2 separate regions of the Homo sapiens genome follow, and region 2 is linked to region 1. Evidence: promoter capture Hi-C in 16 types of primary human blood cells and fetal thymus (Javierre and others, 2016). All regions are on one chromosome and are shown on one strand. The core of a region is centred on a gene start or on the middle of the fragment in contact, and the rest is flanking DNA. Distances in the headings are between cores, read along the strand shown.

Region 1 (4,568 bases), core at 2,046-4,545:
CCTAGCTGACCCACACTTTAATATTCAAGACTCAACACATCTCACTCCTCAAGATCACTTTGAGCAAGAGACTTTGCCCTGTTCTGTGACTAAGACCACCTGATAACCCTCCTGTCTTGCCTTCTTTTCAAACCTAGGTCTATGGAAAAGCTTTATTTATGCTAGTGGTTACATCTGAACATACACCTCAGTCTCAATCAACTTACTACAATGAAGGTTTACATATGCCAATGAGTGTATTTTTGCATCTTGAAAGCTTCTAACAGACACTAAACCCAGAGAAGGTGCTGAACTATTTCTTGAGTGAAGATAAAAATGCTGGCTGTGGAAAAAAAGATAACTAGGCTTTTGGAGACTTTTACTGGAAAGCAAGATATGAGGAACGAGTCACTGGATGAATGGAACCTTATTAGGTTGCAGAATTTTGGAAGAAAAACAAAATGTTCGTATAACCTAAAAAATAAGATGGCATTTTAGGGAAGAGAGAAGAAATGCTTCCTTACCTTGGACATGGCTTTAAGGATTCCAGAATTTGACAGTTCTTCTGTCCTACTCCTTCAGCTCCTCTGTGGGAGAGGGACAGTATCCTGAGAAAGTCGAGCTGGAGAAGGAAAAGAAACCATAAAATGCCAGGCCTGCCCTGCAGCTCTCAGTATCATCAGCCTAGAAACCTTTCCTTCTCTTTCTCCTTCTTTCCCCAACCTCAGGAGTAAATTAGAGGTATCACTGAGCAATTCATTTATATCTAAATTTACAATTCTTTTTCCCACATGCTTTGGATCTTAAGAATACAACATACGGGCCAGGCGCGGTGGCTCACGCCTGTAATCCCAGCACTTTGGGAGGCCGAGGCTGGCGAATCACGAAGTCAGGAGATCGAGACCATCCTGGCTAACACGGGGAAACCCCGTCTCTACTAAAAAATACACAAAATTAGCCAGGTGTGGTGGCGGGCGCCTGTAGTCCCAGCTACTGAGGAGGCAGGAGAATGGCGTGAACCCAGGAGGCGGAGCTTGCAGTGAGCCAAGATCGCGCCACCACACTCCAGTCTGGGCCACAGAGCGAGACTCTGTCTCAAAAAAAAAAAAAAAAAAAAGAATACAACATACCTGTTCTGTGTTTAAGTTACCTCCCCATTTATAATTTAAAACAAAAACAGCAATTACAGAATGGTATTACCAAGCAAGGATTTCCCCCTCTTTCACACATGAAGGCTCTTCATCGGAGTAATTATTCAAGGCATCATGGTAATAATTAAGCCAAACTGGAAACCAGTTCTAACTTTTAATTCTTTCCACCCGATCATGATGTTGAAAGGAAATATGTTCCCACCCTTTCTGCAAGGATGACAGATAAAGCTACAAAGTGAAATTTCTCAGAGAAAGCATCTCTATACACAGAGTGAGTATCAGAGGGTCCATGTAGTGTGGTGGACACTCGATCAAAGAGTCAAGACGGCCTACTTCTGGTCCTGGCTTATGACAACCCACAACTGAAAACTAATCTCTTGACTTTTCTGGGCAATCTCCTCAGACAGAAAGAAGGAGAGAGGGAGGGAGGAGCAGGCTATGCTTGAACAGTCATCCAAACCCCCTATGGTGAATTCTTGTCCAGCAGACCTCACTGCCTTGAAGAATAAAGCCATTACCTATGAAGTGGCATAACTCAGTGGTAAGAACTACTAGGCTTAAGGATCAGAACACCTGGTCTCAAACAGCCAAACCACCACATGCTACCTATACAACCTCTGGCAAGTTAGGTAACCACTGCAAACCTGTTTCTCTATCAGTGAAATGGTAACTATTCCCTATCAATTGTTGGGAGGATTCTGAAATGATCTACATAAAGCATTGAGCACAGTGCTTAATTTTCATCTTTCTGTCATTTATTTTCATAACCAGCACATGGTAGGTCTCCCATTCCTTTTTCCTTTTAAATTCCTCACGTGCCCCCAGAGACTGAGAGGGATGGAAAAACTACTGTGCCAGAGGACAAGCAGCCAGCGTGGTCAGCTTTTCAGGCTTAAGGCTGAGGCTCCTGTCTGTCTCTCCCTTTTCAGCTCTCGTCCCTCCCTTTCTCCATCTTTTCCCCTTTATCTCAATCTTTCTGTCTCTCCACCACAACAGCAGTCTCCCAAACCCCAGAGCACACCAGCATCTCCAAGCACCCACACAGCTTCCTGCCCACACAAATCACAGACAACAAACCACATAGTTTCTCATTCTGGCACCTCCCCTGGCAACCTATGGACATGCCCCCACATTGTAGCCCGCCCTGCTCTCACAATGGGTCATATAAGGCCATTCTCAGTCACACTGTCACACTCACTGTCGGGATGACATACAGTGCTAAGTCACACCATCTCCCTCAGTCTCACATAATCACACACACTGTCATGCACAATCTCAAACACTGTCACATACAATCTTAGTCCAACAACAAAAACTCTGTTCACATACAGTTTCACATACAGTGACACAGTCTCACACACTGTCACACAAATTCTGTCGCAGTTTCATGTGGTCCCATATCAACAGCCACACACCGTACACAACCACACATAGCCTCACACACGGTGACATGGTCTCACATACTGTCACAGTCTCATCTAATCCTACACACACGGTCAAGCTCTGTTCACAAAGTCACACACACTGTCACACAGTCTTACATTATCCCACACACACAGGTCACACACACAGTGACATGGTCTTACACACTGTTCACACGTGGTCTACACATAATGACAGTTTAACACTGTCACACATTCCCAGTCTCACACATGGTGACGTGGTCTTAAGCACATACAGTGTCACACAGTCCCACACGGTCCCATATACTGTCAAAGGCTCCCGCATACACCGGGGCAACGGTCTCATACTGTCGCACACATTCTCACACCCAGTCTCATACTGTCACACATAGTCCCACATTTGTCCCACATGGTCTCACACTGACACACATATTCACACACGGCCTCACATTCTCACACTGTCACACACGGTCTCAAATTCTCACACAGTCACACATGGTCTCACACACGATTCCACACTGTCAAACACATTGTCACACACGGTTCCTTAATGTCTCACACATTCTCACACACTGTCACACACGGTCCCACACATGGTGGCATGGCCGCTCCCGGCGTCAGCTCCATCCCGCGCTCCTCACCGCCTCCTCCCTCCAGTGGGCACCTCCTTCGGCGCGGTCCTTGGAGGCCGGGGCTGGGCCAGGGCCCGGGCCAGGGCTCGATCCTGGCCGGCGGCCGCGCTCACAAAGGCGCCGCAGCCCTAGGGCAGGCCGCAGGGGCCGCTGGGAAATGGAGTCCGGGGCCGGCGCGGCGCAGAGGATGCTGGGATGTTGGCCGAGGGCCCCGGGCGGCCGCAGATCCCGCCGCTCAGTTGCGGGTAGTTACTGCTGCGCCCCTTTCCCTAGTAAGCCCACCTCCGCTGGCCTTCAGAATCCCACCCGGACCAGCTGAGCCCTCTCAGGCCGTTCGACTGTCCGCTCCCCCACCCGTTCCACCCGTTCCACCTGCGCAGGCGCAGCTGGTTCAGGTCCCCAAAGGCTGCCAGGCCGGGGTGCCAGCGCGGTGAGGCGCACGCGCAGTGACCGCGTCCGCGCTCCAGCGCTCCGGGTGGGGCTGTGAGTCCATCGCTGAGAAAAGGGAGCTGGAGGACCAGTGTGGAGCCTGAGCCAGCTGGAGAGGGGCCCGGTAGGATGTACGTGTGATTAAGCGCTCTGGCGGCCCGGGCTTTCTCTTTCCCTTTCTGTTTCTTCTCTCTCCGCCTTGCCCTGTCTTTCATTCGCCACTTATTGAGCGCCTGCTGTATCGGGCACTGTCGTGGGCCCTGGGCACACAGCAGTGAACAAGCAGACAAAATCCCCACCTCATGGAGCAGCATTCTAATGCGGGAGGAATTCAATAGGAAAAAATTAATAATAAAGGACACTGATGCATATTGGGAAGTAATGCGTATTATCAAGAAAAGCGAAGCAGAGTATTAAGATCATTCTTTCAGTTCTTCATTCTTTCAGTTATGCCCTCTGAATCAGTGGAAAAAACGCAAGGTGCATTTTTTTCTATTATCTCAACGACAACTAATCATAACAGAAGACTTTTCTGACCAAATATAGGGGAGTTTCCCACACATCTCAAGCAAGCAATGAGTTCAGTGAGTTCTGCAGCGGGCACCAGCTGGGTGTCCTCCAGTTTAATTCCGACGCCGTCTACTTGGAGATGGGTCAGACACCATTCGCTGAGGGCTCAGTCCCCAAGCCTGCCTCCCCCTTCCCACTTCCCACTAAAGTCTAGCCTCTGGAACATCTGACTCCACCACCTTCAAATTGGGATTTTCACCACCCCCTCTTTGCGGTTCGATATTTTGCTAGAGTGGCTCACGGAACTCAGGAAACACTTATGTTTACTAGTTTATTATAAAGGATATTACAAATGATATAGATGAAGAGATGCGTAGGGCAAAGTACAGAAAAAAGGGTGTTGCACCTTCCAGTAACCTCCACATGTTCAGCTGGGTGGAAGCTCTCTAAACCCTGTCTTTTGG
Region 2 (4,805 bases), core at 1,297-3,796, 1.0 Mb before region 1:
ACACCATTCCCTATATCAGCATGCTGAAACCATCTGGGATGGGTGAAAGCTGGAAACACTCTCCACTCACCTGTCCAGCATCCATAAGCATTGCTGCCACTGCTATGAACCCTGTGGGAAGAGGCAGGCCATGAGGATTAAGACAGCATTGCAGCATCCTACAGGCTGACTGTACAACCACCTCTGGCCCTGCAACTAGAGCAAAGTTATCTGAGGGTACACAGTAAGTCCTCAGGGTTCAGTGTCTTGATGAGGACTGAACTTCCTTAAGTCTCGGTGCCCTTATGTGTAAAATAGAGATTAAAAGGATTGCCAACTAATAGGGCTTATATGGGCATCAAATATAAGTAGTACACACTATGTATCAGCAATTTCTTTCTACTGGATTAAATATTTTTTACATGTTTTCGGTACAAATGACATGGAAGGGTTTTGAAATTTTGGGTGTGTATTTTTCCCACTTCTTACGGTGTTAAGGAAATGTGATACATAAAACTTTCCATTGCAAGCAAATAGAAAAATTAACATTCAGCCGGGCATGGTGGCTCAAGCCTCTAATCCCAGCACTTTGGGAGGCCGAGGTGGGCGGATCACGAGGTGCAGAGATCAAGACCATCCTGGCCAACCATGGTGAAACCCTGTCTCTATCAAAAATACAAAAATTAGATGGGCATGGTGGCGCATGTCTGTAATCCCAGCTACTCGGGAGGCTGAGGTAGGAGAATCGCTTGAACCCGGGAGGCAGAGGTTGCAGTGAGCCGAGACCACGCCACTGCACTCCAGCCTGGCGACAGAGCGAGACTCCGTCTCAAAAAAAAAAAGAAAAAAGAAAAATCAACATTCAACAATTATTAAGTGAATAAATTTAACTATTGGTTACATTCATTTCTAACTGCCGACCTATGTGTACATATTTAGAAGGATACTGGTTCATTAGTGGTTAAATAAATGTTTTATACATTCGGCCGGGCGCGGTGGCTCATGCCTGTAATCCCAGCACTTTGGGAGGCTGAGGCGTGCAGATCATGAGGTCAGGAGATAGAGACCATACTAGCTAACACGGTGAAACCCCGTCTCTACTAAAAATGCAAAAAATTAGCCTGGCGTGGTGGCGGGCACTTGTAGTCCCAGCTACTCGGGAGGCTGAGGCAGGAGAATTGCTTGAACTCGGGAGGCGGAGCTTGCAGTGAGCCGAGATCGCGCCACTGCACTCCAACCTGGGCGATGGAGCGAGACTCTGTCTCAAAAAAAAAAAAAATGTTTTACACATTCATAAATAAATAAGTTGCAGGGAGGGGATAAGCAAGCAGGTCAGTTACTGGTCCCATCAGCAACCAGGCCTGCCTGCTACAAATTCAGTTGCTGGAAGCTTGCTGGAGGCCCTTGACTAGATGTGAGAAAGCCCTACCCCCGTCTGGACCCAATGTCCCCACTAGTCTGGATGACCTTCCTATTGTTCCACAGAGTGGGCCTGGGGGGCTGCTGGGTCTGCAGGTGCAGAAATCTAAACCACCTCACACCTCAGTCTCCAGCCTAGGCCAGTTCCTTAACCCATTCAGAACTCCGTTTTTGCAGATATGAGCCAGAATCCCTCCTATGACAGGTCTGCGCCTTTCTAAAGGTAGCGTCAGGCTTATGGACCCACCCATGATCTGCCCTCCAAAACTCAGCCCTCCAAAATGCAACTCATAATCCTCTCTGAAACCTGCTCCCTAAGCTGACTTCTCCAACTCCATTCTTTCAGATTTTCAGGCCAAAACAAAATCCATGGAATAGACCCTTCACTACCCTCACTGCTACATTTGATGCAGCAGGAAATCCTGTCGACTCTATCTCTGAGATCCATCCAGAATCTCATCACACTTCCCCTCTACTGCAACCCCTCTGGCCCATCCCTACCATAACTCAAGGGGTCTCCTCAGCGGTCCCCTTGTCCTGGTTTAACATCCTGTTTTTCCCAACTTTAAACGTCTACCTCTGGGCATAACCCTTCCTGCACAGCCTTCTACGGCTTTCAGCAGCTCCGCTGCCCTCCCAGGCGAGACTCCGCCTCACCCTCAGCTCCGTGGAGACAAAGACGCTCGGGCTCCCCAGTGCCGCCCGCTCTGCAGCACCTCTAAGCCTCGCACGTGCAGGTCCCTGACAGGAGCTCCCCCGCCTCACAGCACCGCGGACACCGGTACCCCACACAAGAACGCTCCTCTCTTTGGGACACAGGGGCCTGACCTGCAGGGCCCCTCCTCGGGGCTTCGGCACTCGGAGGAGGGATCGGGCGGGGCGCCCTGGGACGCGGCACCCACCTCAGTCAGGTTCATCGGCGCAGCCTCCGCCAGCACAGCCAGGGAAGAGCGGGGCGGGAGCGGCAGTGACCTGGACGCTGACAGAGGCACCAACGCCTGCAACCGATTCAACCGAGCCTCACTCTAGCCTCTGTACAACGGGGAAACCTTTTCTCGCGTTTTTCCGCTTTTTCACCTCAGTCTCGACTCAGCCTGAAGGTGAACAGATCCCAACGCAGCCATATTGACAACCCCAGGAGGCGTTGCAGGAAGTCCCGCCCACACGCATTGCGAACCCCCGTAGACGCCGCTCTGCTAGGCCTTCATTGGCTACACTCGCTGCTTGTGTCCGCCGCTGTGTCTTTTGGGTAATGTAGTTCCCAGGCCACTGCCTGCCCCGCTTCTGAACTTAAGTTAACTCGCGTTCAGGATGAAAGCCAGGAGGATCCTCCTGAGGCTTTGAGAAATGCAGTTGCGGGGCTCCAAGGACGTGGAGGGGCTTCATTGGCTTTTAAACGGCAAGCATCCAGATTTTCCCGGAAGGCAGTCTAGAACAAGTCAGAGAAATGTTTCAGAGACCTGTCCTTTCAGATTCTGTAAAGCACAGCAAGTTCCCAAAAGACGAACATCCGAAGGAACATGGCCAACCATAAAGAACTGGTCTTCCACGCATAGCGGTCAGCTCTTTTGTGCTTGCCAAATACACACAGAACGAAGCTCTGGAGACTGTTTTATGATCTTCAATGTGCTCTGCTGGGCACATTGAAAAGACCCAGACATGGCATGATGGGGAGTTTGAGGAGTAATATCTTTCCTTTCTGAATAATCAGTTATTGTCTTTCAGCCTACCCAGCAACACTTTATTCACATGATACTTATTACTTTATATCTGAGATATTTTCCACTTATTTTAAGAGACTGAAACCTAACTGAAAAGGAAAAGCGACTTATCTACCATTATCTGCCAGAATAGTGTGGCCTTCCACCAGTCAAAGCCCTTGTGCAAAGAAAGCATCTTACTCCTGAGATAAAGGTTTGGGAATGCATGATCTCATCTCATTAGTGGAAAGTGATTTATCATTTCGCCTGAAATTGTATCAACAGTGTCTGCACAGGGAGTTGAAATTGTCTCTGAATAACTCTTGTGAAATGGCTATTACTGAAACTATTAATGACGATTATGTAGATATCCAAAGAAAGTGGCAAAAATAGTTATAGAGAAACATATTTGTGATAGGAGGAAAAAAGCTAAGGTTGTCCTGGAACCTTGGACACACTCAAGTTTGGTGTCCAAAATCTGATTCTTTTTCAAACTTGAAAACATTGTGCATTAACAGCTTGAAGGGAGAGGTAAAGACTATATATTAAAAGAGTTACCAGAAAAGTAAAGCTGAATAGGGAAACTGTGCTGTCGTATTTATTACTCTAACATATTTGATGAACACTCATTCGATGCCAGGTACAATACTAAGTGCATGGGACACATTAGGAGTAGGGTTGCTAGCTGTCTGTGGTCCTCTAAGACACGTAAGACGTATTTAATGAATTAGTCCTCAGTCCTGTATTGACCTTGTCAGGTCACTTTAAATGTCCTGTATTCCGCTTTTTACAATAAATTACAAAACCTCAGAAGTTAGAGCTATTTTTCTACCACTATAATTGTAAATTAAATCACTTAGCAGCTATGTTAGCTGAAAATCATACCCCCACAAATAAAGATATGGACATAGTCTTGTGATCTCTCCTGCAGAATTGGTGAGGGAAAAATAAAATGGAGCACTGAGATATTCAGTAAAGGAGAAGACTGTTTTTTGGCCAAAGTCTTGAAATTTGGTTTATCAAATTACAAAAAGAAGGAAGGAAGGAGAGAGAAAGAAGGAAACGAAAGGAAAAGAAAAAACCACCCAACTGAAGGTCTGGAAGAGTTAAAGCTGTTCAGTAGTGCCAGCTACATGGAAGTTAAGACGGGAGGATTACTTGAGTTCATAAGTTCAAAACCAGTTTGGGCAATATAGTGAGATCCCCGTCTCTGAAAAAACTGAAAATTAAAAACATGTTAATCATTTACCAACAATACATCCCTACCATCCTACAATTCTATTTCTAGATATTTACCAACAGAAACTAAACAAACTTTTTTTTTCTTTTTTTGAGATAGAGTCTCTCTCTGTCGCCCAGGCTGGAGTGCAATGGCACGATCTCGGCTCACGGCAACCTCTGCCTCCCAGGTTCAGGCGATTCTCCTGCCTCAGCCTCCTGAGTAGCTGGGATTACAGGCATGGCCACCACGCCTGGCTGATTTTTGTACTTTTAGTAGAGACGGGGTTTCACCATGTTGGCCAGGCTGGTCTTGAACTCCTGGCCTCAGGTGATCCACCCGCCTCAGCCTCCCAAAGTGCTGGGATTACAGGCATGAGCCACCTCGCCTGGCCCAAACATCCATCTAACACTTGGTGACAGGCCACATATCTTTGTGTATGTGTATGTATATATATATATATATATGGAGAGAGGGAGAGAGAGAGA

Evidence for each region. Contacts are between HindIII fragments. The CHiCAGO score rates a contact against its expected background, and 5 or more counts as called.
Region 2: a contact is called between the fragment with the promoter of ZNF17 here and the fragment with the promoter of ZNF583 in region 1, in 3 of 17 cell types (neutrophils, total CD4 T cells and activated CD4 T cells). The highest score is 8.4, in neutrophils.

Annotation. Positions count from the first base shown.
Region 1 is chr19:56,403,059-56,407,626 of GRCh38, reverse strand. ZNF583 (zinc finger protein 583) reads right to left here and starts at 3,295. Exons shown (of 5, transcript NM_152478.3): 1 at 3,175-3,295; 2 at 504-601. The coding sequence starts at 512. RefSeq lists a silencer at 3,062-3,271 and an enhancer at 3,732-3,871. The HindIII fragment of the contact is 8,045 bases long and covers 259-4,568 here.
Region 2 is chr19:57,408,902-57,413,706 of GRCh38, reverse strand. It overlaps ZNF17 (zinc finger protein 17), which reads right to left and starts at 2,546. Exons shown (of 4, transcript NM_001330617.2): 1 at 2,301-2,546; 2 at 71-111. The coding sequence starts at 91. RefSeq lists a silencer at 1,847-2,049 and enhancers at 2,293-2,352, 2,433-2,542. The HindIII fragment of the contact is 5,033 bases long and covers 1,372-4,805 here.